6 separate regions of the Homo sapiens genome follow, and all the other regions are linked to region 1. The links are contacts of gene promoters, found by promoter capture Hi-C in blood cells and fetal thymus (Javierre and others, 2016). All regions are on one chromosome and are shown on one strand. Each heading gives the region's core, a stretch centred on a gene start or on the middle of the fragment in contact. The rest is flanking DNA. Distances are from core to core; before and after follow the strand shown. Region 1 has its middle 12 kb from the start of ZBTB32. Region 2 holds the start of LRFN3 (leucine rich repeat and fibronectin type III domain containing 3). Region 3 holds the start of TYROBP (transmembrane immune signaling adaptor TYROBP). Region 4 holds the start of KIRREL2 (kirre like nephrin family adhesion molecule 2). Region 5 holds the start of GAPDHS (glyceraldehyde-3-phosphate dehydrogenase, spermatogenic). Region 6 holds the start of ATP4A (ATPase H+/K+ transporting subunit alpha).

Evidence for each region. The method cuts DNA at HindIII sites, captures the fragments that hold promoters and counts their contacts. A CHiCAGO score of 5 or more calls a contact.
Region 2: a contact is called between the fragment with the promoter of LRFN3 here and a fragment that was not itself captured in region 1, in 16 of 17 cell types (erythroblasts, activated CD4 T cells, M0 macrophages and 13 more). The highest score is 16.9, in erythroblasts.
Region 3: the fragment with the promoter of TYROBP here is called in contact with a fragment that was not itself captured in region 1 in 13 of 17 cell types (activated CD4 T cells, total CD8 T cells, naive CD4 T cells and 10 more); the score reaches 14.0 in activated CD4 T cells.
Region 4: the fragment with the promoter of KIRREL2 here is called in contact with a fragment that was not itself captured in region 1 in 13 of 17 cell types (M1 macrophages, M0 macrophages, activated CD4 T cells and 10 more); the score reaches 11.0 in M1 macrophages.
Region 5: the fragment with the promoter of GAPDHS here is called in contact with a fragment that was not itself captured in region 1 in 3 of 17 cell types (monocytes, M2 macrophages and M0 macrophages); the score reaches 6.1 in monocytes.
Region 6: the fragment with the promoter of ATP4A here is called in contact with a fragment that was not itself captured in region 1 in 11 of 17 cell types (megakaryocytes, erythroblasts, naive B cells and 8 more); the score reaches 23.1 in megakaryocytes.

Annotation. Positions count from the first base shown.
Region 1 is chr19:35,690,548-35,695,403 of GRCh38, forward strand. No RefSeq gene overlaps it. Among named protein-coding and RNA genes, the nearest start is that of ZBTB32, 12 kb to the right of the region's middle. The HindIII fragment of the contact is 301 bases long and covers 2,189-2,489 here.
Region 2 is chr19:35,932,768-35,937,623 of GRCh38, forward strand. LRFN3 (leucine rich repeat and fibronectin type III domain containing 3) reads left to right here and starts at 3,607. Exons shown (of 3, transcript NM_024509.2): 1 at 3,607-4,788. The HindIII fragment of the contact is 21,793 bases long and covers 1-4,856 here.
Region 3 is chr19:35,905,857-35,910,712 of GRCh38, forward strand. TYROBP (transmembrane immune signaling adaptor TYROBP) reads right to left here and starts at 2,439. Exons shown (of 5, transcript NM_003332.4): 1 at 2,312-2,439; 2 at 1,874-1,906; 3 at 1,590-1,724; 4 at 1,362-1,408. The coding sequence starts at 2,372. RefSeq lists a silencer at 1,451-1,604 and enhancers at 3,416-3,545, 3,696-3,745, 3,846-3,955. The HindIII fragment of the contact is 5,164 bases long and covers 1,189-4,856 here.
Region 4 is chr19:35,854,902-35,859,757 of GRCh38, forward strand. It overlaps KIRREL2 (kirre like nephrin family adhesion molecule 2), which reads left to right and starts at 2,010. Exons shown (of 15, transcript NM_199180.4): 1 at 2,010-2,279; 2 at 2,444-2,593; 3 at 3,507-3,656; 4 at 3,803-3,963; 5 at 4,580-4,730. The coding sequence starts at 2,219. The HindIII fragment of the contact is 4,263 bases long and covers 70-4,332 here.
Region 5 is chr19:35,531,530-35,536,385 of GRCh38, forward strand. It overlaps GAPDHS (glyceraldehyde-3-phosphate dehydrogenase, spermatogenic), which reads left to right and starts at 1,927. Exons shown (of 11, transcript NM_014364.5): 1 at 1,927-2,065. The coding sequence starts at 1,999. RefSeq lists an enhancer at 2,784-2,913. The HindIII fragment of the contact is 5,250 bases long and covers 1-3,814 here.
Region 6 is chr19:35,561,107-35,565,962 of GRCh38, forward strand. ATP4A (ATPase H+/K+ transporting subunit alpha) reads right to left here and starts at 2,552. Exons shown (of 22, transcript NM_000704.3): 1 at 2,512-2,552; 2 at 2,278-2,421; 3 at 2,103-2,162; 4 at 1,329-1,532. The coding sequence starts at 2,523. RefSeq lists an enhancer at 3,707-4,208. The HindIII fragment of the contact is 9,853 bases long and covers 1-4,856 here.

The sequences.
Region 1 (4,856 bases), core at 1,089-3,588:
CACCCAAAGAGTGAGCAGCAGCAGGATTTATAGCAAAGAGCAAAAGAACAAAGCTACCACAGCACGGAAGGGAACCCCAGCGGGTTGCCGCGGCTGACTCGGGCAACCTTCTTTTATTCTCTTATCTGGCCCCACCCACATCCTGCTGATTGGTCCATTTTACAGAGAGCCGAGTGGTCTGTTTTGACAGGGTGCTGATTGGTGCGTTTACAATCCCTGAGCTAGACACAAAGGTTCTCCATGTCCCCACTAGATTAGCTAGATACAGAGTGTCCACACAAAGGTTCTCCAAGTCCCCACCAGAGTAGCTGGATACAGAGTGTCGATTGGTGCATTCACAAACCCTGAGCTAGACACAGGATGCTGATTGGTGTGTTTACAAACCTTGAGCTAGATACAGAGTGCCGATTGGTGTATTTACAATCCCTGAGCTAGACATAAAGGTTCTCCACCTCCCCACCAGACTCAGGAGCCCAGCTGGCTTCACCCAGTGGATCCCGCACTGGGGCTGCAGGTGGAGCTGCCTGCCAGTCCCACGCCGTGCGCCCGCACTCCTCAGCCCTTGGGTGGTCGATGGGACTAGGTGCCGTGGAGCAGGGGCGGCGCTCGTCGGGGAGGCTCAGGCCGCACAGGAGCCCACGGGGTACGGGGAGAGGGGAGGCTCAGGCATGGCGGTCTGCAGGTCCCAAGCCCTGCCCCGCGGGAAGGCAGCTAAGGCCCGGCGAGAAATTGAGCACAGCAGCTGCTGGCCCAGGTGCTAAGCCCCTCACTGCCCGGGGCCGGCGGGGCCGGCCGGCCGCTCTGAGCGCGGGGTCCACCGGGCCCACGCCCACCCGGAACTCGGCGCTGGCCCGCAAGCACCGCGCGCAGCCCCGGTTCCCGCCTGCGCCTCTCCCTCCACACCTCCCCGCAAGCTGAGGGAGCCGGCTCCGGCCTTGGCCAGCCCAGAAAGGGGCTTCCACAGTGCAGCAGCGGGCTGAAGGTTCCTCAAGTGCTGCCAAAGTGGGAGCCCAGGCAAAGGAGGCGCCGAGAGCGAGCGAGGGCTGTGAGGACTGCCAGCACGCTGTCACCTCTCAGTAAGACAGGTCAGGGCTGGGCACAGTGGCTCACGCCTGTAATCCCAGCATTTTGGGAGCTGAGGCAGGAGGATTGCTTGAGGCCAGGATTTCCAGACCAGCCTGGCCAACATAGTGAGACCTCATCTCTCCAAAAAATTTAAAAATTAGCTGGCCATAGTGGTGCGCACTTGTAGTAACCGCTAGTCGGGAGGCTGAGGTGGGAAGATCGCTTGAACCCAGGAGGTAGGGGCTGTAGTGAGCTGTGATGGTGCCACTGCATTCCAGCCTGGGCAATAGCAAGACCCCGTCTCAATAATAATAATAATAGGCCAGGACTTGCTAGATGGGAGGCCGGGGTTTGACCTGACCTCTGACCTCTGGGCAGTCAGGTAGGTAGGCCGCCATCTCTGACCCACATCTGCCACTTGGCTTTCGGGCTCCATCCTACCATATACCTGCAGAGTGTGGCTCAGTCAGACCGGCAGCAGCGTGGCCTCACCCAGGCGGGCCTGCCTGCAGGACAGGTTTGTCCGCCCCAGCCCCCAAACTCAGAGGCCGGCTCCTGTGGGTAAGAGGGGAGCAAAGAGGTCAGGGCTATGTCAGGGCCCGGACCCCTTGAGGGACAGGCAGCCATTTGATGGCTGTTCCCCCCACACCCCAGGTGACTGCATCCCTCCTCAGCCTCTAACCCTCCACGGCTCTCCAGCGCCCTCCTCACCTCGCACTGAGGGCCCGTGTGGCTTGGCCCCTTGCCACCTCTCCAGGTATCTCTTTCTCTCTCTTGCTCCACTGAGCCAAGCTCTCTCTCTCACCATCTGAGATCACAGAATGGAAATAAGAAACTGTGTTATATAGCAATCAAGCCAGGCACATGCCTCTGACTACATCCACTTTTGCTTACACTCCTTCCATGAGGGCAAGTTGGTTCTTTTTTTTTTTTTTTAACTAAAACGTAAAAACACACACCCCTGCCCTTTCCTCAGGTGTCCCACGCCCACCAATTCCTCCTCTCTGGTCCCCGCGTCCTTGGCTGGTGTTAGAAAAATGGCTACAAGCTTCCTGGGAATCAGATAATAAAGCTTACAGGAACTCTTCCCAGATTTAAAAGAGCTTAATAAATAAATAAATAAAGCTTACCTTCTAGAGGGGAAAATAGATAAAACCAATAAGAAAAACACATGTTAGAGGCTAATAAGTGCTAAGGAGAAAAATAAAAGAATGAAAGACAAAACAAAAACCTAGCCGGGCGGGGGGGCGCGGTGGCTTACGCCTGTAATCCCAGCACTTTAGGAGGCCAAGGCGGGAGGAACGCTTGAGGAGTTCGAGACCAGCCTAGGCTACATAGTGAGACCCTGTCTCTACAAAACAATAAAAAAATTTTTAAAAATCGCTGGCCATGGTGGCAAGCACCTGCATCACAGCTGCTCAGGAAGCTTAGGCAGGAGGATCACTTGAGTATGGCAGTCGTCGCTGAAGTGAGCCAAGATGGCACCACTGACTCTGTCAGCCCAGATAACAGTCTCAAAAAAAAAAAAAAAAAAAAGATGACTGGGCATGGTGGTTCACACTTGTAATCCCAGCACTTTGGGAGGCTGAGGCAGGCAGATCACCTGAGGTCAGGAGTTCGAGACCAGCCTGGCTAACATGGCGAAACCCTGTTTCTACTAAAAATACAAAAATTAGCTAGATGTGGTGGCATGTGCCTGTAATCCAAGCTACTCAGGAGGCTGAGATAGAAGAATCACTTGAACCTGGGAGGTGGATGTTGTAGTGAGCCAAGATCGTGCCACTGCACTCCAGCCTGGGTGGCAGAGCAAGACTCCATCTCAAAAAACAAAAACAAAACAAAACAAAGCAAAAAACGGTGAGAGGGCCTGGTGCCCCCTCTGGAATGTTTTTCATTGTCTAGGTTTGACACTGTGCTGTGCCATCACGTGTGGGGCTGGGGAAAGTGCAGATTCCGGGGCACACGCCTGCCCTTGGAGCAGGGATGGAGTCAGCTCCATCTATAGGGTCTGGTCTGGGAGGAGGGAGAGGGTGCTTGCCCAGAGCAGGCTCAGACCCTAAGCCTGAGCCTAGGGAAGGGTGAGCCGACCCTGGAGGCAAATGGACCACAATCCCCCCTCCCCATCAACCTTCACCAGCGATTCCGGGATAAATGACACAGACAGCACTGAGAATTCCATGGTAGTCGTTATTATTACTGTTGTTTTTATTAATAGCAGGGGCCCCATCACTTACCTGTGGGTTATCAATTTATTACCTCTCAGTTCCATTTGTCATCTGGTGCCAGGTTAGGCTTTGTCAATAGAGGGCGCTGGAGAGCCACTGAGGAGCCAGGGCCCCTCTGCCTCACTCCAGGGCTTTGTGTTCTTCCTACTGCGCTGTGACCAGCAGGTGGCTGCTATGCTCCACATTATAGGGAGTGACCTCCACTGCCACCCTCTCCTCCTTCTCCCTCCTCCTCCTCCCTCCTCCTCCCTCCTCCTTCTCCCTCCTCCTCTTCCTTCCTCCTCCTCCTCCCTCTTCCTCTTCCTCCCTCCTCTTTTCTTTCATCCCTCTTCCTTTCTCCTCCTTCTTCCTTCTCCTTCCTTCACCCTCCTCCTCTTCCCTCCTCCTTTTTTCTCTTTCTCCTCCTCTTTCCTCCTCCGCCTTCTTCCTCCTCCTCCTCCTTCTTCCTACCCCTTCTCCTCCCCCTTCCCCTTTCTTTTAAAAGACGGGGTCTCAGCCAGGCACAGTGACTCACACCTGTAATCCCACCTGTAATCCCTCACTTTGGGAGGCCAAGACAGGAGGATCACTTGAGCCCAGGAGTTCGAGGCTGCAGTGAGCTATGGTAGCACCACTGGACTCCAGCCTGGGCAATAGGGGGAGACTTTGTCTGAGAGAGAGAGAGAGAGAAAATGAGAATCGCACCGTGTCGCCCAGGCTGGAGTACAGTGGCAGGACCATAGCTCTCCAGTGCCTTCTTGAGTCTAGCTAGGGACTTGTCACTTAACCCAACAGATCTATTTAAAACATGAAGTAGAATCATTGTTTCTCACAGAATCAGCTGCCTTCTCAGATCCTCTACAAATGGAAACAGAATCATGCAAAACAGGGAAGGTAAAGGGACAAGAAAATGGTCTTTTTGAAGAGCTGCTCCCAGCCCTGCTGGACAAAATGACCAAAATAGGATCCCTGGTATTAAAGTTCCTCTCATAAAAATCCATTCAGAAAATTGAGGACACTTTGGGAGGCTGAGATGTGAGGATTGTTTGAGGCCAGGAGCCTGGGCAACAGAACAAGGCCCTGTCTCAAAAAAAAAAAAAAGAAAAGATACATATATATATATCTGTACCCAGAGTCAAGACAAGCAATATTTGTTGTCTAAAAACAACTCTGGTTCAGGGTACATCAGTTAACTTTTTTTTTTTTTTTTTTTTGAGATGGAGTCTCGCTCTGTGTCCCAGGCTGGAGTGCAATGGTGCGATCTCAGCTCACTGCAAGCTCCACCTCCTGGGTTCACGCAATTCTCCTGCCTCAGCCTCCCAAGTAGCTGGGACTACAGGCACCCGCCACCACGCCCAGCTAATTTTTTGTGTTTTTAGTAGAGACGGGGTTTCAGCGTGTTAGCCAGGATGGTCTTGATCTCCTGACCTCGTGATCCGCCAACCTCGGCCTCCCAAAGTGTTCAGATTACAGGCATGAGCCCCCACACCCAGCCTTTTTTTTTTTGAGACAAGAGTCTTGCTCTGTTGCCCAGTCTGGAGTGCAGTGGTGCAATCTCAGCTTACTACAACCTCCACCTCCTGGGCT
Region 2 (4,856 bases), core at 2,357-4,856, 240 kb after region 1:
GCGAGACCCCGTGTCTCCATGAAAAATAAAACAATTAGCCTGGCATGGTGGCATGCTCCTGTAGTCCCAGCTACTTGAGAGGCTGAGGTGGGAGGATCCCTTCAGCCCAGGAGTTTGAGGCTGCAGGGAGCTATGATCATGCCACTGCATGGCAGCCTCAGCGACAAAGCAAGACCATTTCTCTTAAAGAAAAAAAAAAAAGGGCGGGCACAGTGGTTCATGCCTGTAATCCCAGCACTGTAATCCCAGGTTGAGGTGGGCGGATCAACTGAGGTCAGGAGTTCGAGACCAGTCTGGCCAACATGGTGAAAACCCATCTGTACTAAAAATTTTTTTAAAAATGGCCAGGCACAGTGGCTCACGCCTGTAATCCCAGCACTTTGGGAGGCTGGGGTGGGTGGATCATCTGAGGTCAGGAGTTTGAGACCAGCCTGGCCTACATGGTGAAACCCCATCTCTACTAAAAATACAAAAATTAGCAGGGCATGGTGGCACGTGCCTGTAATCCCAGCTACTCGGGAGGCTGAGGCAGAAGAATCGCTTGAATCCGGGTGGCGGAGGTTGTAGTGAGCCAAGATCATGCCACTGCACTCCAGCCTGGGTGACAGAGCGAGACTCCGTCTCAAAATAAAAATCAGCCAAGCGTGGTGGTGCATGCCTGTAATCCCAGCTACTCAGGAGGCTGAGGCAGGAGAATAGCTTGAACCCAAGAGGTGGAGGTTGCAGTGAGCCGAGATCATGCCACTGCACTCCAGCCTGGGCGACAGAGCAGGACTCTGTCTTTAAAAAAAAAAGAGATGGGGGCTGGGCGCAGTGGCTCACACCTGTAATCCCAGCACTTTGGGAGGCCGAGGTGGGGGTATCACCTGAGGTCAGGAGTTCAAGACCAGCCTTGCCAACATGGTGAAACCCCATCTCTACTAAAAATACAAAAATTAGCCGGGCATGGTGGCACATGCCTGTAATCCCAGCTACTCGGGAGGCTGAGGCAGAAGAATCGCTTGAATCCGGGCGGCGGAGGTTGTAGTGAGCAAAGATCACGCCACTGCACTCCAGCCTGGGTGACAGAGTGAGACTCCGTCTCAAAATAAAAATCAGCCAAGCGTGGTGGTGCATGCCTGTAATCCCAGCTACTCGGGAGGCTGAGGCAGGAGAATAGCTTGAACCCAGGAGGTGGAGATTGCAGTGAGCCGAGATCATGCCACTGCACTCCAGCCTGGGCGACAGAGCAGGACTCTGTCTTAAAAAAAAAGAGATGGGGGCTGGGCGCAGTGGCTCACACCTGTAATCCCAGCACTTTGGGAGGCCGAGGTGGGGGGTATCACCTGAGGTCAGGAGTTCAAGACCAGCCTTGCCAACATGGCGAAACCCCATCTCTACTAAAAATACAAAAATTAGCTAGGCATGGTGGTAGGTGCCTGTTATCCCAGCTACTTGGGAGGCTGAGGCAGGAGAATCACTTGAACCAAGGAGGCAGAGGTTGCAGTGAGCCAAGATTATGCCACTGCACTACAACCTGGGCAACAAAGTAAGACTCTGTCTAAAAAAATAAATAAATAAATAGGCCGGACACTGTGGCTCACGCCTGTAATCCCAGCACTTTAGGAGGCCGAGGCGGGCAGATCACGAGGTCAGGAGATCAAGACCATCCTGGCTAACATGGTGAAACCCTGTCTCTAATAAAAATACCAAAAAAATTAGCTGGGCATGGTGGCAGACGCCTCTAGTCCCAGCTACTCGGGAGGCTGAGGCAGGAGAATGGCGTGAACCCGGGAGGTGGAGCTTGCGGTGAGCCAAGATCACACCACTGCACTCCAGCCTGGGCAACAGAGCTAGACTCTGTCTCAAAAATAAATAAATAAATAAAATAATAATAAAATGGGGTTATTTGTTTTTTGCTTGTTGCATTGTTTAAGTCCCTTATAGACTGAATTCCTCTTTATGTCTCTAAATACATTTGTCTCTTTGGTACACATCTGCGGTGCTACATGCCCTCAACCCACCAGGTTTTAGCATAGCTGTTGTGGTAGACAGTTCCGTGTGCAGTGCAGATAGCCCTGGTTCAGCCCAGCTGTTCTCAAAATGTGGTCCCTGACCAGGTGTAGTGGCTCACACCTGTAATCACAACACTTTGGGAGGCCTGGGAGGGAGGATTGCCTGAGGCCAAGAGTTCAAGACCAGCCTGGGCAGCATATTGAGACCCTGTCTCTACAAGAAATTTTAAAAATTAGCTGGATATGGCGATGCATGCCTGTAGTCTCAGTTACTCTGGAGCCTGAGGTGGGAGGATTGCTTGAGCCCAGGAATTTGAGGTTGCAGTCAATTATGATTGCACCAATGTACTGGGTGACAAAGCAAGACCCTGTCTCAAAAAAAAAAGTATGGTCTTTGAAAAGTCACATTAGCATCACCTGGGTACTCGTTAAAAATGCAAATGTTTGGGTCCCACCTCAGACCCACTGAACCAGAAACTCTGAGGTTGGGACCTGGAGATCTATGGTGCCCCCGGGTGATCCTGGTGGGCTGCACTGCAAGGACACCTGGCCTGGCTCCTGCAAGGCAAGGCATCCCTCTCTGCTTTTCTTTCTTTCTTTCTTTCTTTTAAAGACAGAGTCTCACTCTGTCACCCAGGCTGGAGTGCAATGGCTGGATCTCAGATCACTACAATCTCCACCTCCCGGGTTCAAGCAATTCTCTTGCCTCAGCCTCCCGAGTAGCTGGGATTACGGGCGTCCGCCACCACACCCGGCTAATTTTTGTATTTTTAGTAGAGACGGGGTTTCTCCATGTTGGCCAGGCTGGTCTCCAACGCCTGATCTCAAAAGATCCGCCCGCCTTGGCCTCCCAACGAGCCGGGATTACAGGCGTGAGCCACCGCCCCCGGCTGTCAGTGTGTCTTGAGGTCTTTCCCTAATCCCAGATGGCACAAGTTTTCCCTCTTGCAGGCAGAGAAAGGAGCCTTGGGAAGGAGCCCCTCTGGCCTGAAAGATCAAGCCTATTGCTGGGCATGGCCAGGTAAGGAAACTCCAACCGTGGAAAGGACATTCCAGGGAGGTGGTGCTGAGATAAGGGGGGCAGAAAGAGACAGGTTTGGGGGGCCAGTGGCTCTGGAATGAAGCGCTACACTCAAGGCTAGGAATAGTTACTGAATGCACATACACACATACCATTCTCACAGCCCAGGTGCTGCGTCTTAGAGCGTGTGAGTGTGTATGTGTGTGTCTGTGTGTGCGCGCGCACGCACGTCTCTATCTCTGTTTCTGTCTTTCTCTGACTTGTCCTTATCTCTTGTCTCTCCATCACTCTCTGTGTCTCGCTGTCTCTGTGCATTTCCATGTCTCGAATATGTGTGTGTTTCAATCTGTCTCTCTGCCTCTTTCCATTTTCTCCTCTCTATCCATCAATCTAAGCCTGCCCATCTTTTTGTCTGCCTTTCTGTATCTCCGTTCTTCTCTGTCTCTCTGTCTCAGTCTCTCTGTATCCAGGGATTCTCTTTCCCAGCAGCGCCAGTGCGACTCCATGGGAGGTGGGGCCGGGGCGCGTCTTTGAGAGAAGGGGCGGGTGCCTACGCCTTTAAGCGCGGGTGCGCGCGGAGCCTGCGCCTTTAAGCGCCGGTGCGCGCGCTGCCCTGGGTTGCCGGCGAGGAGGCCGCGGGAGCGCCTGGACCCGGCCCGCCCAGCCCGGCCCCCGCCCGGCCCCCGCCTCGGCCCCGGCGGGGGAGGGGTCTCTGAGCGCGGCCCCTCCCCCCTGCGCCCCCGCCTGCGCTGCGGTGCCCCCATCCCGCGTGTCCCAGTCTGTCTGACCGTCCCTCCGCTCCCAGGCCTCGCCCCACCCGGCCCTGGGGCTGCCCGGTCGCCCCCCTCCCCACCGCAGCCGGTCCCCTCCCTCCCAGTCAGCCTCCGCCGCAGCCCAGGAAGCCAGCCGGGACGCCGCCGCCCCGGACCCCGCGCCCTAACCTCCACCTCGGGGGCCTGCACCCCCAGATTGAATCGGGAATTCCGGAAACCCGAGCCTGGAACCCTGATCTGGGACCAGCACCCCGAGATCCGGCCGTGGAACCCCAAGATCTGGAGCCTGAACCCCAGTATATGGGGCTGGAATCTCAACATCGGTCACTGGGACCTCAATATTTGGAGCCGGAACCCCACAATTTGGAACACAGACCCCAATATTTGGAGCAGAACCCCAAGATTTGACATCTAAAACCTCAAGCCTGGAGCTGAACTCTGAATTCTGGGCCTGGGACCTTGAAATCTGGGACTGGATTTCCAGTACTGTACCCTGGAACCCACTCTTGGGGACCTGAACCCTGGGATTCAGGCCTCAAATTCCAAGATCTGGACTGTGGGATTCCAAGGGGCCTGAACCCGAGTTTGGGCCTGAAGTCCTTGCTGCAGACCTGAGTGCTTAAATCTGGGGCTTGAGACCTCCCAATCTTGACTCAGCACCCCAATATCTGAATGCAGAACCCCGGGATCGGATCTCAGACTCTAAACCCCACCGTTTGGCTGCTTAGCATCCCAAGACTGGACCTGGGAGACCCTGACCCTGAACAACCCAAACTGGACCCGTAAAACTGGACCCTAGAGGCCCAATATTTAGGGGTCTGGAACCCCGAGTATTAAGGTCTGGAGACTCCGTTGCCACAGATTTGAGCCGAGTCAGGACACAGTCCCTCTACAGAAGCCTTGGGGACAGGAAAAGCATGACCAGATGCTCCCTCCAGAGCCCTGACCTCTGACTCCCCTGGAGCTAGGACTCTGCTCCCTGGGGCTGCTTCTAGCTCAGGTAAGGCTGCTGAAACCTCAAGGTGGGGACGGGCTGGGAGGAGCATTGTGGCTGCGGGTTACGGTACC
Region 3 (4,856 bases), core at 1,189-3,688, 220 kb after region 1:
GCAAGAGAATCGCTTGAACCTGGGAGGTGGAGGTTGCAGTGAGCTGAGACCACACCATTGCACTCCAGCCTGGGTGACAGAATGAGACTCCATCTCAAAAAAAAAAAAAAATTAAAGTAGAGAAAGAAAAAAGAGCTTCAAGAATACTCAACCAGCATGGTTGCTTGAGCCTGTAATCCCAAGATTTTCGGAGGCTGAGGCGGGAGGATCACTTGAGACTGGGAGTTTGAGACCAGCTGGGGCAACATAGTGAGACCCCTGTCTTTTTTTTTTTTTTGAGATGGAGTCTCACTCTGTCGCCCAGGCTCACTGCAACCTCCGCCCCCTGGGTTCAAGCGATTCTCTTGCCTCAGCCTCCTGAGAAGCTGGAATTACAGGCGCATGACACCATGCCCAGCTAATTTTTGTATTTTTAGTAGAGATGGGGTTTCACCATCCTGGCCTGGCTGGTCTTGAACTCCTGACCTCGTGATCCACCCACCTTGGCCTCCCAAAGTGCTGGGATTACAGGTGTGTGCCACCATGCCTGGCCAAAAAAAAATTTTTTTTAATTATAAAGAACATTTACACTGCTCTCAGATTATATGCACAATTTTGTATTTTTTGTGTAGATTTTTCTGGGAGTCTAGATTTTCTTAGTTTCTCAAAGGGATGAAGGGTCCTCAAACCCAAAAAAGAGATTCTAGGACTCCTCTCTTTAGAGTTACCAAGGTAGGGCTGAATGACATTCTCTGCCCTACTGAGAGCGTCTCCCAGAAATCAGTCGTCCTAGGGCTGGGTTTCTTCCAGAAAATTCCTGGCCTGACTTCTGGCAAGGCCTGTGTTTACACTTACAAAGGCAAAGCCACCCTTTTTTTTTTCTTTTTAACTCTTCACGCTTTTTTTTTTTTGACAGAGTTTTCCTCTTGTTGCCCAGGCTGGAGTGCAATTGCGTGATCTTGGCTCACTGCAACCTCCGCCTCCTGGGTCAAAGGATTCTCCTGCCTCAGCCTCCCAAGTAGCTGGGATTACAGGCATGCGTTACCACGCCCAGCTAATTTTGTATTTTTAGTAGAGACAGGGTTTCACCATGTTGGTCTCGAACTCCTGACCTCAAGTGATCCACCCGCCTCTGTCTCCCAAAGTGCTGGGATTACAGGTTTGAGTCACCGTGCCCAGCCCCTCTTCACACATTTTAAGCTGACCATAAGCTTGTGGTTGATCATTCGGCCCAGTTTTGGACAGATGTCCCATGTGCCTTCAAGGTTTGGGGGTGCTTTAGGCAGAGTGGCTTTGAGGTCCCTCTGATGGCATGAAGGAGTATCTGGGGCAGATATCCCTGGCAGGAGTGAAATGTGAGGAGGACAGTCTGGTTTTCTCACCTGATAAGGCGACTCGGTCTCAGTGATACGCTGTTTCCGGGTCGCTGCTGGAGGTGAGGGGTGTTGTGGGGTGCAGAGACAGGCAGAGTGGTGAGTTGAGGGTGTTTTGTCATTCCAAATCAGCACCTCCATTACCATCCCTTTGGATGTTTGAGATCTGGGAGTTTACCCAGCCCCCCACCCCCATCTAGGCAAGTCCTCAGGATGTCCCCTGCTAGCCCCACTCACCCTCCGCAGCCCCTCGCCCCCGAGGGACCAGCCGGCCCAGGAAGTACACGGCCAGGGCAATGAGCACTGTCAGCACCAGGTCTCCCATCACGATCCCTGCCAGCACGCCCGGGCTCACCGTAGAGCAACTGCAATCTGCAGCACAGGGGTCAGGGGAGGTCAGTGTGTGCTGGGAACTGTGGGGAGGGGGGTCAGCGGCAGGGAGGTTTGGAAAGGGTGTGGGAGAGACGGAGACAGGGAGGTCTCTGGGAGGTAGAGAGAGGGACTGCTGGGTCTAGGCCTACCGCTCTGGGCCTGGGCCTGGACAGGACGGAGACCTGAGGAGGAAAAAGAAGGTAAACTGAGGCACAGAGTTATGACGGGGGTGGGGGAGGCAAGTTTAGAAGCCAGGGAAGGTGGATCCTGACAGCCAAGAGGTTAGCAAGGGGGAGAGCGTGTCTGGCGGGACTCAGGGGGCTGGCGTCTGGGCCACCGGACTATGTGCGTTACTTCTGCACAACTTGTCCTGTGGCAACACACTTAGATGTCTCTTCTCCCCTGCTTGTAGCGGACGACAAAACTTGGGGGCTTGGGCTCTGGGAGAAACCCACAGGCTTTGGGAGGTTGGGGACCTGCTCCCATCCCAACACCCACTTTTGGTTCTCTCGTTCCACCCCACTCCCTGCCCTGCCCCAAGCTGAGCCCAGGGACCCGGGAGGCAGCCACGGAAGCCCCTAACTCACCACTTACAGCCAGCAGGAGAGGCAGGAGCAGGAGCCTGCTGCAGGGTTCAAGTCCCCCCATGAAGCCGGATGCTGCTGGACACCACAGTGTAAGGGCCGGTGGGATGTGGCGCAGCGTCCAGGCAAGTGAAGGAGGAAGTCTGAGGCGGGTGGTGGCAGAAGGGAGGAGGAGACAGGGGAGGAGAGACAGAAACAAAACCCAAGAAAGAATCAGGCCCAGACACCCAGGGGCCATGCCACAGGCCCCCAGCAACTAGACGTGAAGGGCAAAGGGTACGTGAAGCACAAACTTCACCTCCGTCCCCAGTCAGGGGTCAGACATCGTTTTAACAGGAGGGTCAGTGTCATGACCTTCCTCTGGCTGATTGAAACCAGCTCTGCCTCTTCCTGGCTGGTCAACCTTGAGTGCAATGGCACGGTCTCGGCTCACTGCAACCTCTGCCTCCCGGGTTCAAGTGATTCTCCTGCCTCAGCCTCCCAAGTAGCTGGGATTATAGGCGCCTGCCACCATGCCCGGCTAATTTTTTGTATTTTTTTTTCTTTTTTTTTTAGTAGAGACAGGGTTTCACCATGTTGGCCAGCTGGTCTCAAACTCCTGACCTCAGGTGATCCACCCACCTTGGCCTCCCGAAGTGCTAGGATTGCAAGTGTGAGCCACCGCACCCAGCTCCAACCTCAGTTTCTTCATCTGTAAAATTGGGAGTAAAATGGGACCTACTTTTTAGAGTTGTGGGGATTAAATGAATTAAAGTTCCTAGACCAGGGTCTGACCCTTGTCAGCTTTTTAAAAGCATCAGCTATGATGATGATTATTTAATCATCAGAAACTTGTGCTGTTTAAAGGATATTAAAAGAGCCAGCAGCATGTGGGCACTAATGACATGCAGGCACTCTGTCCCAAGCGTTAAATCATTCAGTCCCCGCAATGCCCTTCTAGGGCACATGCTCTTATCATCCCCATTGTTCAGAGAGGTAGAGACGCTTGCCTAAGGCTGCACAGCAAATCAAGGTGGAAATGGAACCCAAGACCCAAAATCAGGTTTTTGACTAGGGAAGAGTCAGGGGGAAAAACAAAGATGAAAGATGGGGAAGGAGAAAACAGCGGCAAAGCTGAGAAAGGTGAGAGTAAGGCAGTGGCACAGACACAGAGGCACGGCTGGCGGCTTGGGGAGAGGCAGGTGGCTGGCTCTCCTGCTGAATGAGGAAGTGGCTGGGAGCAAGGCCCAAGGGAGGCCACCCCAAGGAGACGGGGACTTCTAGCCCCCAGCTGGAGCCTGGGGCTGGGGAAGGAGGAACCTGAGGTTAGGGTGCTGGAGGATGAGACAGCTGCAGGAAGCCCCCCTCCCCCATCCACACGTCACACCCACCGCTCCTTGGGCCTGGGCTTAGGAGAAAAAAGGGGAAACTGGATTCTGGTCACAGGGCAGATGCCCAGTGGCCTGTGGGGGAAGGGAGGAGAGGAGATTTGGAGCCTGGAGGAGGGTCAGGTCCCAGCTCAGCCCACGGTCACCACTGTTCAGGCCTGGCTGAGTCCCCTCCCTTAAAAACCCAAGCCTCTCCCATTGTGTCTAGAGCGAGCATGGAGGGAACAGACCCTGTAGGTCCTCCCGGGCACACCAGGCCACCCAATGTGTTGGAGCAGAGTGGGCGAGGGGGCAGTCAGAGACCAGAGCAGGGCTCTGAGCCAGGAGGGCCCTGACCTGACTCAGGGGTTCACAGGTTCCCTCCGGCCGCAGGTGGGGAGCAGACTGTGGAGGCAGGGACTGGAGCAGGGAGGCCAGGCTGCTGGGATATTTGTGAGGATATTGTGAGGTCTATTAGAATAATGCCTGGTTGAGTTCAAGACCAGCCCGGCCAGCATGGTGAAACCCCATCTCTACTAAAAATTAGGCTGGGCACGGTGGCTTATGCCTGTAATCCCAGCACTTTGGGAGGCTGAGGCGGGCGGATCACGAGGTCAGGAGATCGAGACCATCCTGGCCAACATGGTGAAACCCGGTCTCTACTAAAAATACAAAAAATTACCTGGGCATGGTGGTGGGCACCTGTAGTCCCAGCTACTCAGAAGGCTGAGGCAAGACAATACCTTGAACCTGGAAGGTGGAGGTTACAGTGAGCTGAGATCGCGCCACTGCACTCCAGCCTGGGCGACACAGCAAGACTCTGTCTCAAAATAATGATAATAATAATAAAGGGCCAAGCGCGGTGGATCACGCCTGTAATCCAACACTTTGGAAGACCGAGGTGGGCGGATCCCCTGAGGTCGGCAGTTCGAGACCAGCCTGACCAATATGGAGAAACTCGGTCTTTACTAAAAAATACAAAATTAGCCTGGCGTGGTGGCGCGTGCCTGTAATTCCAGCTACTCAGGAGCCTGAGGCAGGAGAATCGCTTGAACCCAGGAGGCAGAGGTTGCAGTGAGCAGAGATTGCGCCATTGCACTCCAGCCTGGGCAACAAAAGCGAAACTCAGTCTCAAAATAATAATAATAATAATAATAATAATAATAATAATAATAATAATAATAAACTTTCACTCCTGCTCT
Region 4 (4,856 bases), core at 760-3,259, 160 kb after region 1:
TCCCTGGATTTTATAACCATATGCTGGTGGGCCTGCCCTCCCCGCGTGCACATACACTTGCCTGGGATAAGCTTCTTCTGCCTGCTTATCTCCTGCGGGAATTGGAAATGCTAGTTTTCTCCCTACCTCCCCAAGACCCCCGCCAATATCGTTCCCAGGAACAAGATGAGGCATCTGGCCTCAGCCCCCAGCTTCATCCTCGATGCTGGACTTCCATCTTCCCTCACATGCTTGACTCCTTGCCCTCCTCCCACCTCCCCTCTCCCAACTGCTCTCTACACCCCCTGGGAAATGGGCTGGATGCCGAGCTGGGGGAGTGGCTCTGTCCTGGGGGCCCTCGCCAGATGGTGTCCCTAGGTGCCAGAGCGTGGAGCTGTCCCTTGCTGGGGCCTTTAATAAGCACAAACCTTCCACCCTCCACCTTGGCTGTTTTCCTTCTCTGCATGCTCCTGGGACCTTGGGCTCTCCATCTTTCCATGTCCGTAGCCCCAGAGAGCCAGGAAGGGGAAGCGGCGTCAAGTGCCTGGAAAAACAGCCCCATGACTTGAGTTCCTCCCTAAGACTCAGGAGTTCCAGCCCCATGTCCATCCTATTTCAAAATCCAGGCACTAGATAAGCCACACAGAAGCCGGGAGTGTAGGCCCCCAGATCCCTCCCCTCTCAGACCCTGGGGTCTCAGTCCCTTCTCTCCAAGGACTCGGGAATTTGGGCCTCTGATCCTCCTGGCCACACTACCCACCCCCGCACCTCCCCATACACACACACACACACACACACACACACACACACACACACACACACACACATACACACAGGACTTAGGACAGATGTTCACGGTCTGATTTCCAAATCCTCCTGGGCCTGTGTGGGGGTGGGGAGAGATTGGCAGATAGATCCACCGACTCTTAAGACTTAAGACCAGATATTCTGACCCCTGTCACCCTCTTCCAAGTGCACCATGCACTTGAGTGCACCTTGAGTCTCCAGCCTCTCAAGGAACCGGGAGATCAGGCCATCAGCGTCTCAGCCAGCAAAGGCCTGAACCACCAGTCCCTTATAACCCTGTAAGTCCAACCCCCACTCCCAACCCCACTCCCCCATTTAGGGACACGGAGTCTGAGCCTAAGAACAGTGGAGAATCTGAATGTGGACCCTCCAGTTCTTACAGGTCCAGGAATGTCAGATCAGGGTCCCAGCCCCCCAGCCCTCCTTCAGGCTGCTCGGGGTCCCTCCCACCTGCTCGGCCAGCTGCGCAGCGTGGGAACGCCCCAGCTGGGCTGCATGGAGCCGTCAGGACAAGCTGCGCGGTTCCCAGCCTCCCTGCCTGCCCCGGCCCGGCACCGCCGCCTCCCAGCCGTCGCCGGGCAACCAGGCCGAGGGGCCCGGCCGGCCGAGTGGGGAGAGGGGTTGGGCTGGGACTGCGGGGTCCTGGGAAAGGAGGGGCCGAGGGCCTGGATTCCTGGGTCTTAGGACGTGCTGTAGTTTGCAGCAATAACAAGGGAACAGAGGGATATTTTGAGGAGGGGTTTTGAGGCTGGGGGAGTCGAGGTAGGGGTCCCAACTGTCCCCCAGGTATCGGTGTGCCCTCTTCCCGACACGCAGGCCCGGGGGAGCCCCGGACCCCGCATCCCCCAGGGCGCGGAAACTGGCGAGGCCCCAGGAGCTCCCATTTATAGCTCAGTTTCCACTGAGCGCAGTCCCTCTAGGACCTGGGCTGAGCAAGTTTCTTCCACTCTCTCCCTTCCCTCCTCCTCACCCCTTGCCTGCCCCTCAACCCCGGCAGGGCGCAGGTGTCCAACCCAGCCGGGACCCCCTCCCTCCTCGAACCCAGGTGTTCCGGCTCCCAGACCCCAATTGAGCTGGGGGCGCCCACCCGCCGGGGGATCCCGCCCTGCGTCCCCCATTCATCCGCGTCTCAGCCGCGGGAGTTTCTCAACGGGAAGAGGGCGGAGCTCCCGGGGGGCGGACCCGGGCGGGGCGAGCGGGATCGGGCCCTCTTGGGGTCTCCCAGAGACCCAGGCCGCGGAACTGGCAGGCGTTTCAGAGCGTCAGAGGCTGCGGATGAGCAGACTTGGAGGACTCCAGGCCAGAGACTAGGCTGGGCGAAGAGTCGAGCGTGAAGGGGGCTCCGGGCCAGGGTGACAGGAGGCGTGCTTGAGAGGAAGAAGTTGACGGGAAGGCCAGTGCGACGGCAAATCTCGTGAACCTTGGGGGACGAATGCTCAGGATGCGGGTCCCCGCCCTCCTCGTCCTCCTCTTCTGCTTCAGAGGGAGAGCAGGTACCGCACGAGGGGAGCGGAGGAATATGGGGTGGGGGTGGGGAGTTGCTTGCGGGCTGCCTCTTCACTAGCGAGAAGGGAGCTGGGGGCTGGGACTCCTGGGTCCTGAATGAGGAGGCCCCTGAAGGTGCTAAGCTCAGCCCTGCTGCCCCGAACTCTCCTAGGCCCGTCGCCCCATTTCCTGCAACAGCCAGAGGACCTGGTGGTGCTGCTGGGGGAGGAAGCCCGGCTGCCGTGTGCTCTGGGCGCCTACTGGGGGCTAGTTCAGTGGACTAAGAGTGGGCTGGCCCTAGGGGGCCAAAGGGACCTACCAGGTAAGAGTGTTCTCTCCACGCTGGGACGGGCTGGCTAGGGGGAGAGTTGCTGGGCTCGGCTGTACCTGCAGTTTCTATTTTGACATTTTCAAGTTTGGGAAATTGATGGGCTCGGGTAAACATTTAGGAGTCCTGATTTTTGAGCTGCTTCTTTGGGGGTGACCCACGGAGTTTGGGAATTATTATGTTATTGCAAAATAGTACATAGGCCAGGTGCAGTGGCTCACGCCTGTAATCCCAACGCTTTGGGAGGTTGAGGCCAGAGGATCGCTTGAAACCAGGAGTTTGAGACCAGCCTGGGCAACATAACAAGACCTTATCTCTACACAAATGTATATATATATTTTAAACAAATTAGCCGGGTATGGTGGTGTGCATCTATAGTCCCAGTTACTCAGGAGGCTTAGGTGGTAGGATTGCTTGAGCCTAGGAGTTCAAGGCTGCAGTGAGCCATGATCAAGCCACTGCACTTCAGGCAATGGTGAGACCCTGTCTCAAAAAAAAAAAAAAAAGAGAACATAAATGCAAAAAAGTACAGTAAATATAAATGGAAGATTTACCAAATAAAATAGACACACACAGCCAATACCCAAGTCCATTGCTAGCTCCCCAGAAGACCCCGTGTTCCTTTCCCCTATCATAGCCCCCTCCCCCTCACTCCAGAAGTAGTATCTAACCTAATTTTTATGGCAATCATTTTCTTGCTTTCCTTCCTGACTTTATTACCCCTAAGTTTGCAGTGACTCTGGGTTGGGAGGGAGTTAGAGTCTCTCTGGGCCCAGTACACACTTTTTAATAGTGTCTTACCACCAAATGTGTGGGCCAGTTTTCTGGTGGAGGATGTCTGGGGATGGAGGCCTGAGGCCAGGATTTCAGAACCATGGTGTGCTGACTGCCTTCTCCCTGACTCCAGGGTGGTCCCGGTACTGGATATCAGGGAATGCAGCCAATGGCCAGCATGACCTCCACATTAGGCCCGTGGAGCTAGAGGATGAAGCATCATATGAATGTCAGGCTACACAAGCAGGCCTCCGCTCCAGACCAGCCCAACTGCACGTGCTGGGTAAGGACCTCGCCCACTTGTCCCCTGGGAGCCCAAGAGGGCAGCCCGTACTAGCTGTGAGTAGCAGAGCCCAGGGAGCCCAGGGGCATGGTCAATTGGAGCTGAGAAGATCAGGATCCATCTCTGACCCCAAATCCACCTTGCAGTCCCCCCAGAAGCCCCCCAGGTGCTGGGCGGCCCCTCTGTGTCTCTGGTTGCTGGAGTTCCTGCGAACCTGACATGTCGGAGCCGTGGGGATGCCCGCCCTACCCCTGAATTGCTGTGGTTCCGAGATGGGGTCCTGTTGGATGGAGCCACCTTCCATCAGGTCAGGTCCAAATTCCTGTGCTAGCCTTTGCCCATTGAGGGAAACTTGGGTTACACTCTGACCACAGGCTCATCCAGAAGAGAAGAAGACATGGGAGGGCAGAGGTTCATGGGTTTGGACTCTTGAAATATGATGCAGGGTAAAGATTCTAGGGCCAGACTACCTGGGTTCAAATTATGTCTCAGCCACTTGCTAGTTGATTGATCTTGAGTAAGTTAGTTAACCTCTCTGTGCCTCAGTTGCCTTATCTATACAATCAGGATAATAGTAGCATGCATGTCATAGGGTATTGTGAGAATTAAATAAATAAATACCTATAAATGCCCAGAAGAGTGACCAATACATAGTGAGCACTATATAAGTAAGGCAAGCTTGTCCAACCTGCGGCCCATGGGCTGCATGCAGCCCAGGATGGCTTTGAATGTGGCCCACCACAAATTCATAAACTTTCTTAAAACATTATGAGACTTTTTTGTAATTTTTTAGCTCATCAGCTATCATTAGTGTTAGTATGTGTGGCCTAAGACAATTCTTCTTCCAATGTGGCCCAGGAAAGCCAAAAGATTGGACACCCCTGATGGGTAGATGGCATTATTATTCTTATCCTTCCCTCCAGACCCTGCTGAAGGAAGGGACCCCTGGGTCAGTGGAGAGCACCTTAACCCTGACCCCTTTCAGCCATGATGATGGAGCCACCTTTGTCTGCCGGGCCCGGAGCCAGGCCCTGCCCACAGGAAGAGACACAGCTATCACACTGAGCCTGCAGTGTGAGTGCAGCTGGCCCTGGGAAAGAGGGGTGTGGGGCCCTGACTCCTGGGTATGAGGAAGGAGGGGACTGTGGCCCTTGGGGAATGAGGAAACTGGAGCCTGGACTCCTGGATCTAAGATAGCAG
Region 5 (4,856 bases), core at 677-3,176, 160 kb before region 1:
CTTGTTCTTTGTCAGACGTTCATTGAAAACCTGCTTTGTATTGTTCTAAGTGCTGGAGGCACAGTCGTGAACAAACAAACAAGAACAGGAGCCCTGTGAGGGGCTTAGAGCCCAAGGGGGAGACATCGAACAAATAAACCAATCAGTAGATCATGACAAACTACATGAAAAGCTACAAGGAAAAGAATGGGTGCTGCGAGAAGATATAACGTGAAGAGTTTGATAAGATTGGCGATCAGGGCCGGGCGAGGTGGTTCACGCCTGTAATCCCACCACTTTGGGAGGCCGAGGCAGATGGATCACCTGAGGTCAGGAGTTTGAGATCAGCCTGGCCAACATGGTGAAACCCCGTCTCTACTAAAAATACAAAAACAAAAAAAAAATTAGCTAGGTGTAGTGGCGCACGCCTGTAGTCCCAGCTACTCAGGAGGCTGAGGCGGGAGAATCACTTGAACCCAGGAGGCGGAGGTTGCGGTGAGCTGAGATCGCACCATTGCACTCCAGCCTAGGCAACAAGAGCGAAACTCTGTCTCAAAAAAAAGAAAAGAAAAGAAAAGATTAGCGATCAGATGAAACCTGAGGAATTGACATTTATTCATTCAGGTATAGTTTATTGGGCTAACGCCTTTTTCAGACAGGGTCTTGCTCTGTCTCCCAGCTGGAGTGCAGTGACACAATCACAGCTCACTGCAGCCTTGACCTCCTAGGCTCAAGTGATCCTCCCACCTCAGCCTCCCTAATAATTGGGACAACAGGCATGCACCACCACACCTGGCTACTTTTTTTATTTTTTGTAGATACAGGGTTTTGCCACATTGCCCATGTTGGTCTCAAACTCCTGGACTCAAATGATCCTCCCACCTCAGCCTCCCAAAGTGTTGGGATTACAGGCATGAGCCACTGCGTCCAGCCCACAAACACCTTTCAGGTGCCAAACACTTTTCTTGTCAATGGGATACAGAAGTGACATAGATGACGTCCCTGTCCTCTCAGAGCTTACAGTCTGGTGGACAGAGACAGTTGGCAAGAAAACAAACAATTTTTAGAGAGACATGTGCTCTAAGGAAAATAAAAACATAGACAGTGTAGCCCTAGAGAAATTTTGCACACTGAAGCATAACTCAGAATGGAGAAGTCAGACAAGGCTTCCTGGAAGATGGGCAGAAATTGGGAAGGGGGTGACGGCTGACAGTGACAGAGAAAGGAGGGAACTTAGATGCAGAGTGTAGAAAGCCTCTCTTAAAGGGTGGGAAACCAAGAGGCAGCCAAGGGAAGCCCTGGGTGGGCCTTCCAGGCATACGGAGGCAGCAAGAGTCACTCCACTGGAGAATCCAAGGGACAGCATGGAACCTGTGTGCTTCAAGAGACAGAGAAGAGGAAAGGGCTTTCAGGAACAGTGTAAAAGGTGGGATTCCAGGCTGGGTGTGGTGGCTCGCTCCTGTAATCCCAGCATTTTGGAAGGCCGAGGTGGGAGGATCGCTTGAGCCCAAGGGTTCTAGACCAGCCTGAGCAAAAGAGTGAGACCCTCTCTCTACAAAAAAATAAAAAGTAAAAATAGCCTGCAGTGGTGGCTGCACATGTAGTCCCAGCTACTCAGGAGGCCGAGGCGGGAGGATCGCTTGAGCCCAGGAGTTCAAGGCTGCAGTGAGCCATGATTGCACCACTGCACTCCAGCCTAGGAGAAAGAGTGACACCCCGTCTCAAAATAAATAAACAAATGATAATTTTAAAAAGTGGGATTCCATTCCAGACGGCAGTGCGTGGCCGTGGAACGGTGATGCATAGCGTGCTGACGTCCCATGCCTCTACGGGGATGGGATGCGATGGTGTCAGGCCTCTGGCTTGGGCGCCGCCCCTCGGCGACGTCACTGGGTACTGTGACGTCACTGGGTGCTGTGACATCAGGGCAATTAGCCCAGGACCCACAGCCCTGGCGCTCCGCACGCACCTCGGTAACATCACAGCAGGTCCAGGCCAATGATAACCTTATAAGAGGCCATGTCGAAGCGCGACATCGTCCTCACCAATGTCACCGTTGTCCAGTTGCTGCGACAGCCGTGCCCGGGTGAGGGAGGCAGCGGAGGGCGCGGGGGAGGGGTGGAAAGGGTAGTGGGGAGCGTCTGCACCCTCACACCTGTGCCGTATCCCTACCGCCCTTCCTGGCGTGTGCACCATCTAGGGACCAGGGGATCAGCCGCTCTCCCTCCCTCCACACCCGCCAGTGTGCTGGCAGAGTGGGGTTTACTGCCATGGCGGGGAGACCGGGCCTCCGCCCCCAGGGCTGGGTGGGCTTCGCGCCGCTATCACGCGGTAGAAAGAGCAGAAACGAGGGCCATCGGAGGCTGCAGCCTGAAAGTGGCGGGAAGTGGGCGGGCTTAGGAGGGGCTTAGGGAGAACCCAGGGGTGCTGGGCTTCCATGTAAAAGTGATGTTCATGGCGCTTCGCGTGAGGTGAGCTTTGCCCTCCCTGTGATGCACAAAACAAGGACACTTGGAACCTTGCCGGGGACGTGCTGACCACTTCGCAGGCGAGAGCTCAGGGAAGCCTCACCACCACCTGAGAAGGCCAGAGTGTGCCCGCAGTTTACAGAGCGGCCAACAGAGGTTAAGAGAGGGCAAACTACTTCCTTAGTCTCTCAACAAGGGCGGCGCGCCCGCGCGCGCGCACACACACACACACACACTCACTCACTCACTCTAGCCGGAGGAACCAGGTCTTCCGGTGGGCTGCCTCCATTCCCACACTGTTCCCTCACTTCCCAAGGGCGGGGGCCGCAGGGGTAGGTGGGGCTGGGGCTTTGGTCCAGGAGACCCTGGAAGACACAGGAGCAGACAGGCTTACCAGCCTCATGAGACTTGAACCCCTGCCCTGCGCATCACTGCTCCGTGGCCTCAGGCTTCATTTTCCCCTCTGTAAAGTGGGTTTATAGCGCATGCCTCTCGGGATTCAGTGGGAGGACGCAGTGAGGAGCTGGGGGCAGCACCCAGCTAGCCCCCAGGCTTTTCTCCAACCGGGGGACCCCACCCCTACAGTGGAGGGGAAGAGAGTGCAAGGCTGGGAGTGCTGGGAGAGGAGGACCATCTGAGTTTTCTTCGGAAGGGTCACCCATTGGGCTCAGATTCCCACCTGAACCAGGTGGACAAATCCCCTTTCTCCCATAGCAGAAACAACCCCCAAGGATGCAAACATCCTCAAGTTCACCAATAAACACTAACACCTTCATGAACTTGGACAGCCACTGGAAACACCTATAGTCCAGCCTCAGGCCACAAGGTCTGTGGCAACAGGGAGAGGTCAGGGAGACAGACAGGCCAGCTGGCCCCCGGCTCCCAGCCCCACCACCCCCCAGGTGCCTTTGATTTGGTGCCAAAAACTTGGACTCCCACTACCCCCTTCCAGCCCTTCTCCACCCCCTGCTGTCTCCCTTTCCTCAGGAATCTGTGTAGGATCAGACTTCCCTCCTCTATTAAAATCAGCTCCTATGTGTGGGCCTCGAGATCTCACTGCGCCCTCACAGCAGCCCCTAGGTGGGGGATCAGCCCCAAGAGGTTCATTAACTTGCTCAAATCCACAGAGCAGCAGGTCTGTGTGGACTGAGCCAGGCTTGACTTTCCAGCTTGAAACTCTCTGCCACCAGGTCCCCTGAGTCTCCACTTCTCCCCTCTTCTCAAGCCCTCCTCTGTAGCTCAGGCGGCTGCTACCTCCAGGCGCAGGTGTTTTTAAGTGCAGTCTGGGAGCAGGAGTGTGTGTGGAGAGGTGGGAGCCAATGTGAGCTTCCATGGGTTTCACAGAGTATGATACACGGTACTCTCTAAGCTTCCCTGAGGATAAGAAATGCCTGGAGTGCTTATTTTATTTTTTATTTTTTTTTGGGAGATGGAGTTTCGCTCTTGTTGCCCAGGCTGGAGTGCAGTGGCACGATCTCGCCCACCACAACCTCCGCCTCCTGGGTTCAAGCGATTCTCCTGCTTCAGCCTCCTGAGTAGCTGGGATTACAAGCATGTGCCACCACGCCTGGCTAATTTTTTTGTATTTTTAGTAGAGACGGGGTTTCTGCATGTTGGTCAGACTGGTCTCAAACTCCCAACCTCAGGTGATCTGCCTGCCTCGGCCTCCCAAAGTGCTGGGATTACAGGCGTGAGCCACCGCTCCCGGCCTGGAGTGCTGATTAAAAACAGGATTTCTGGGCCTCCATACAGACCCACTGAGTCCGATTTTTCTAGGAAGAGCCCTCCTCAGGTGATTTTTTTTTTTTTTTGAGACAGAGTCTCACTCTGTCGCCCAGGCTGGAGTGCAGTGGCGCAATCTCGGCTCACTGCACCCTCCGCCTCCCAGGTTCAAGAGATTCTCTTGCCTCAGCCCCCCGAGGAGCTGGGATTACAGTATTTTTAGTAGAGAACAGGTTTCTCCATGTTGGCCAAGCTGGTCTTGAACTCCTGACCTCAAGTGATCCACCCACCTTGGCCTCCCAAAGTGCCAGGATTACAGGTGTGAGCCACCACGCCTGGCCACTCCGACGACTCCTATCATGGAACAGTTTGGGGACCACTGGGCTAAATCAATTATTGGACAAATTCGGGGAACAATCTACAAAATACTAATGCATGTCAAACATTTCCTCGGCTTGGTCATAAGCAATCCATGTATTACCTCATTTAATCCTCACAACAACCCTCTAAGAAAAGTACTATTATCTCCCCTTACAGAGGAGGAAACTGAGGCACAGAGAATGTCACCCCAAGCGATCTATGTTGAAAGTACATACCCCGGCCAGGCGCAGTGGCTCACACCTGTAATCCCAGCACTTTGGGAGGCTGAGGCGGGTGGATCACCTAAGGTCAGGAGTTCGAGACCAG
Region 6 (4,856 bases), core at 1,302-3,801, 130 kb before region 1:
TGTCCCACACTCGCCTGCTCTGTCTTCTCAGTGTCTTGTGTTTCTGTGTATATTTCATATCCTCTGGCCCTGAATCCTCAATCTTCCATGTCCCCATATCTGTGACTTGTGCCCCAAATCACTGTGTGCCTTGGTCTGACGTGTTCCCTTCTCCTGTGTCCCCAAGCCTTGCATTCCCCATGTCCACTGTCCCATGTCTCCTCCTGTCCCCATGGCCTGTATTCCCCGTGTCTCCAGTTTCACATCCTGGGTTTTCCATAATCTGCTGCCACCCTCTGTGTGTCCCCTGGGCCCCCTTGTCCCTGCATCCTCACATCCCCGTCCCTGCGTGTGCTGCAGACCTTGTACGTCATGGTCTGTGTCCTCTGTGGCCACGGCCCCCATGTTCTAGCTCCCCAGTCACTGTGTCCCGTGTCTCCCATGTCTGTGTATCTCCGAGTTCCCATCCTGTGTCCCATGGCCATGACTTTTCGAGCCTCTGTCCCATGTCACATGTCCCTGAGTCCCCATGTCCCTTGCCCTCATCTCTGCCATATGTCCAATGTCCCTTGCCCTGCACCTCCATTTCCTCTCTGTCTCTGTGCTTCTATGTCTCATGTTTTGTGTCTCTCTATGTGCTGTGTCCTGAGGCTTGGGTCCCTGCCCTGGTGTCCTATGTCTGAGTCCCAGGGTCTCCTATTCCCCGTGCCTCAGTCTGTCCTGTGTCTGCACTGCATGTCCTCTGCTTCCAAGTCCCATCTCTTTTTTTTTTTTTTTTTTTTTTTTTTAAGATGCAGTCTCGCTCTGTCGCCCAGGCTGGAGTGCAGTGGCATGGTCTTGGCTCACTGCAACATCCACCTCCTGGGTTCAAATGATTCTCCTGCCTCAGCCTCCCAAGTAACTGGGATTACAGGTGCCCGCCACCATGTCTGGCTAATTTTTGTAATTTTAGTAGAGATGGGGTTTTGCCATGTTGGCCAGGCTGGTCTCGAACTCCTGACCTCAGGTGATCTGCCCGCCTCGGCCTCCCAAAGTGCTGGGATTACAGGCATGGGATTACACGCCCGGCCTCCAAATCCCATCTCTTACGTATCACATTGCCATACTCTTTATGCCCCCACCTATGTCCCCATACCCAAGATTCACCCCAGTGTCCCTGTGTCCTGTGTCCTTGGGTCTGCCCCATCCATATCCCAATGTCCTTCACCCTCCATGACCCCTGTCTTGAGACTGCCTTTCGTGTTCGTCTATCCCCATCCTTCTCTGCCCCTCTTGTCCCAAGTCCCAGGCTCAGTGTCTTCCATCCCCAGGTCCCCATGTCCTGAGCCTGTCCCCACAACATGGCTCACATTGTCGTCGGTGGTGAGGTCCCCCTCACTAGCCTGGATGGCAAAGGCGATGAGGCAGATGGCGGCGGCAACCCACATGAGGCACTGCAGGCCCCCGGCCAGCTGCCTCGCGAACTTGACGTACTCTGGGGTGCCCCGTGGTGGCCGCAGTGCGTTGGGCCCATCCCGCAGCAGCAGCTCAGCAGCCAGGCTCGCAGAGAGGCCCTGGGACAGAGGGGCAGGGCGAGGCGGTCCTGGGGGCTTTCCTCCACATGCACACCCCGTGGAAAGCCCCCTGCTTCAGTTTCCCTTCTCCAGCTTGGTCTGTCCTGCTCCTTCTCATCTCTTTGTCTCTTGGTTCCTGCCCCCACCCCATCTCTCCCTCCCTCCTTCATCTCTCCCTTTGTCTCTCTCTCCTCGCTCCCCTTTCTATGTGTCTCTCTCCTGCTGCTCTCTCCTTATTTGTCTCTGCCTTCTCTGTCTTGCTGTCTCTTTTCAGCTACTCCTCTCTCCGTCTCTGTGTGTCACCCTTTCTCTCTAATGCTTTCTCCCTTCTCTCCCTCTCCCTCTCTCTCCCTCTCTCCATCTCCCTCCCTCTCTCCTCCCCTCCCTCCATCCTTTCCTCTCTCCCTCCCTCCCTCTTTCCTTTTCTGCCTCCCTCCCTCTCTCTATTTCTCCATATCTTCCTCTCTTCATCTCTCCCTCTCTCTCCCTCTCTCCATCTCCCTCCTTCCATCTCCCTCTCCCTCCCTCTCTCCTCCTCCCCTTTCTGTACGCTCCCAGTCTCCAGCTCACCTTGGTGGCACTGGTCTGGTATTTCTGTTCCAGCTCCGCCACTGACAGCTGGTGGTCGTTCTGTGTGGTGGGGTGGGGCAGGGTGCTTGCTCTGGGCTCTCCTGGCCCCCTCCCCGCCCACTGCCTGGTTCCCAGCCTACCCTCCAGCTCCCGCCCCTCCCCAGTCAGAGCTCACAATCTCCATCTCCTTCTTCATGTTCTCCAGCTTCTCCTTCCTCTTGCCACCCCCGCCACCCGCCTTCTTCTTCTTGCTCATCTTGGCAGCCATGTCCCCGCCAGGGCCAGGACCCAGCTCCACCGAGTAGAGCTCATAGTTCTCCTGGGAATGGACAGGATGGAGGGAGGGAGAACTCAGATTCCACTGCAACCCCTGTCCCCACTGCACCCCGGACCCCTGGGCCCCACTCACGGCCTTCCCCATGGTGCCCGGTGCCTGTGCTCCCACCCAACAGAGCCTGGGCCCGGACCAGTCCTGATATACCCAGGGAGGGCGGTGGGGTGGAGCAGAACCGCCCGACCACAGCTGATTACAGGCTCCTTGGGGTGACCTCTAGGCCTGGGCACCTCAGGCATTCCCTCCTGGGCTGGCCCCCCCCTCCCCTGCCCAGATCCCCCCATGTCAACCTGCCCTGAGATCAGGGAGCCCCTGGGAACCGCTGCAGCAACAAGAAGAGCAAACATAAGGTGCTCATTATGCGCTGGGCATTGTGCTGACGGCTTCCATGTGCTAACTTATTTAACCTTCCAATAACCCTTTGAGGGGACAAGACCCTTTACAGATGGGGAAACTGAGGCATGGAGGGGTTGAGTCATTCTCCTATGGCTCCATCACAGGCTAGGACATAATGGAGTGAGAACCAGATCAGCTGGCTGCAGAGTGTCCTCTTTCAGTCTAAATAGCACGTGCCTGATCAACTGGAAGAGGAGGGTGCTCCCACACTCTTTTTTTTTTTCTTTTTTTTTTTGAGATGGAGTGTCACTCTGACACCCAGGTTGGAGTGCAGTGGTGCAATCTCAGCTCGCTGCAACCTCCGCCTCCCGGGTTCAAGTGATTCTCCTGCCTCAGCCTCTTGAGTAGCTGGGACTACAGGCACATGCCACCACACCCAGCTAATTTTTGTACTTTTAGTAGAGACGGGGTTTCACCAGGTTGGCCAGGCTGGTCTCGAACTCCTGACCTCAGGTGATCCACCCGCCTTGGCCTCCCAAAGTGCTGGGATTACAGGCGTGAGCCACCATGCCCTGCCATGCTTACAACACTCTCTATGGTGGCTGAATGTTTACTGAACTCTGACTATTCACTATGGGCTGGGTGTGCTCTGTGTGTCACTCAAATGGTTTCCTTAGCATCTAACAGCAGCCCTGTAAAGCAATATTCTCTTCTTAGCCCCCATCAGGGACTTTGCAGAAGATTTCAACGTCTAAGAATTAGGGACAGGGTTCCAGCCCGGGCTTGACCCCAGGGCTTGACCCCAGAGCCTAGCTCTTCTATGGCACCACCAATGGAAAAACCCAAACTTCACTGCAGCAGCACCACACACATGCCAGGCTCTGCACGTGTGACCTCACGGGTCTTTGCAAAAAACCCTGTGCAGGCAGAACTATCATTCCTGTTGTGCAGAGGGGGAAACTGAGGCTCACAGGGACTCACATATCCAGCTACAGACTTTACAGCTCTCAACCATTCCCCGTCCCTACCCTAGATGGGGAAACCAAGGTGCAACATGGGGAAAGGATGTGTCCAAGGGTCTTGGCTTGATCTTGGTGTTGGGTGACAGATGCCAGGAGGCCTGGGGACTCCCTCCTCATCCCTCAGGTAGGGACCTCCATGGGCAGCAGCAGCGAGGGGCTGGGCCAGTGGAATGGTGGGGACCTTGGTATGTTATGGGGTGAGCGTGTCTCCAGGAGCAGGTGAGCGTGCGCCTGATAAGATAACTGCCCTGGCAATGTCCTTCTCTACTGGGGCAGGTCACCTGGGAAACTCAAAGCTGTTGGGCAGCCAGAGCTCCTCCCCGCACCCACACGGCTGGTCATCCCCAGCCTGCTAGAAGAAACCTCCAAAGAAGAGGTGGCGTGGGGCCACATGCTGTCCTTGTAGTGAATCTACTCGCTCACTGGGCTCCCATCAGCTCTGAGCCATGTATGTCAAACAGCTTGTGTCACCCCCTGCTTACAACCCTCCAAAGCCTTCCCTTCCCACTCAGAATAAACTCTGCACTCCTTCCTGCAACATCTGGCCCTGGTCACCTGTCCTGCCTCTGTTGCTGCTAGGTTTCCAGGGGCACTGACCTCTCTGCTGCACTTTGCACAGACCAAGGTCGTTCCTGCTTCAGGACCTTGGTACTTACAGTTCCTTCTGCCTGGGCCCCCTTCCTTAGATGTCTGCACTGGCTTTCTCACCTCTTTCAGGTCTCAGCTCAAATGTCACCTCTTCAGAGAGTCCATTCTGTAATACTGCACACTGTGTTCTGTTCCTTTACCCCACTGTATTTACACCTCCTACTCCAACCTGACACTGTGTTTTCTTTTTATTTGTTTGGTGTTCATTAGAAGGAGGACTGGGCCGGACACTGTGACTCACATCTGTAATCCCAGCACTCTGGAAGGCTGAGGTGGACGGATCATGAGGTCAGGAGTTCGAGACCAGCCTGGTCAACATGGTGAAACCCTGTCTCTACTAAAAATACAAAAATTAGCTGGATGTGGTGGTGTGTGCCTGTAATCCCAGCTACCAGGGAGGCCGAGGCAGGAGAA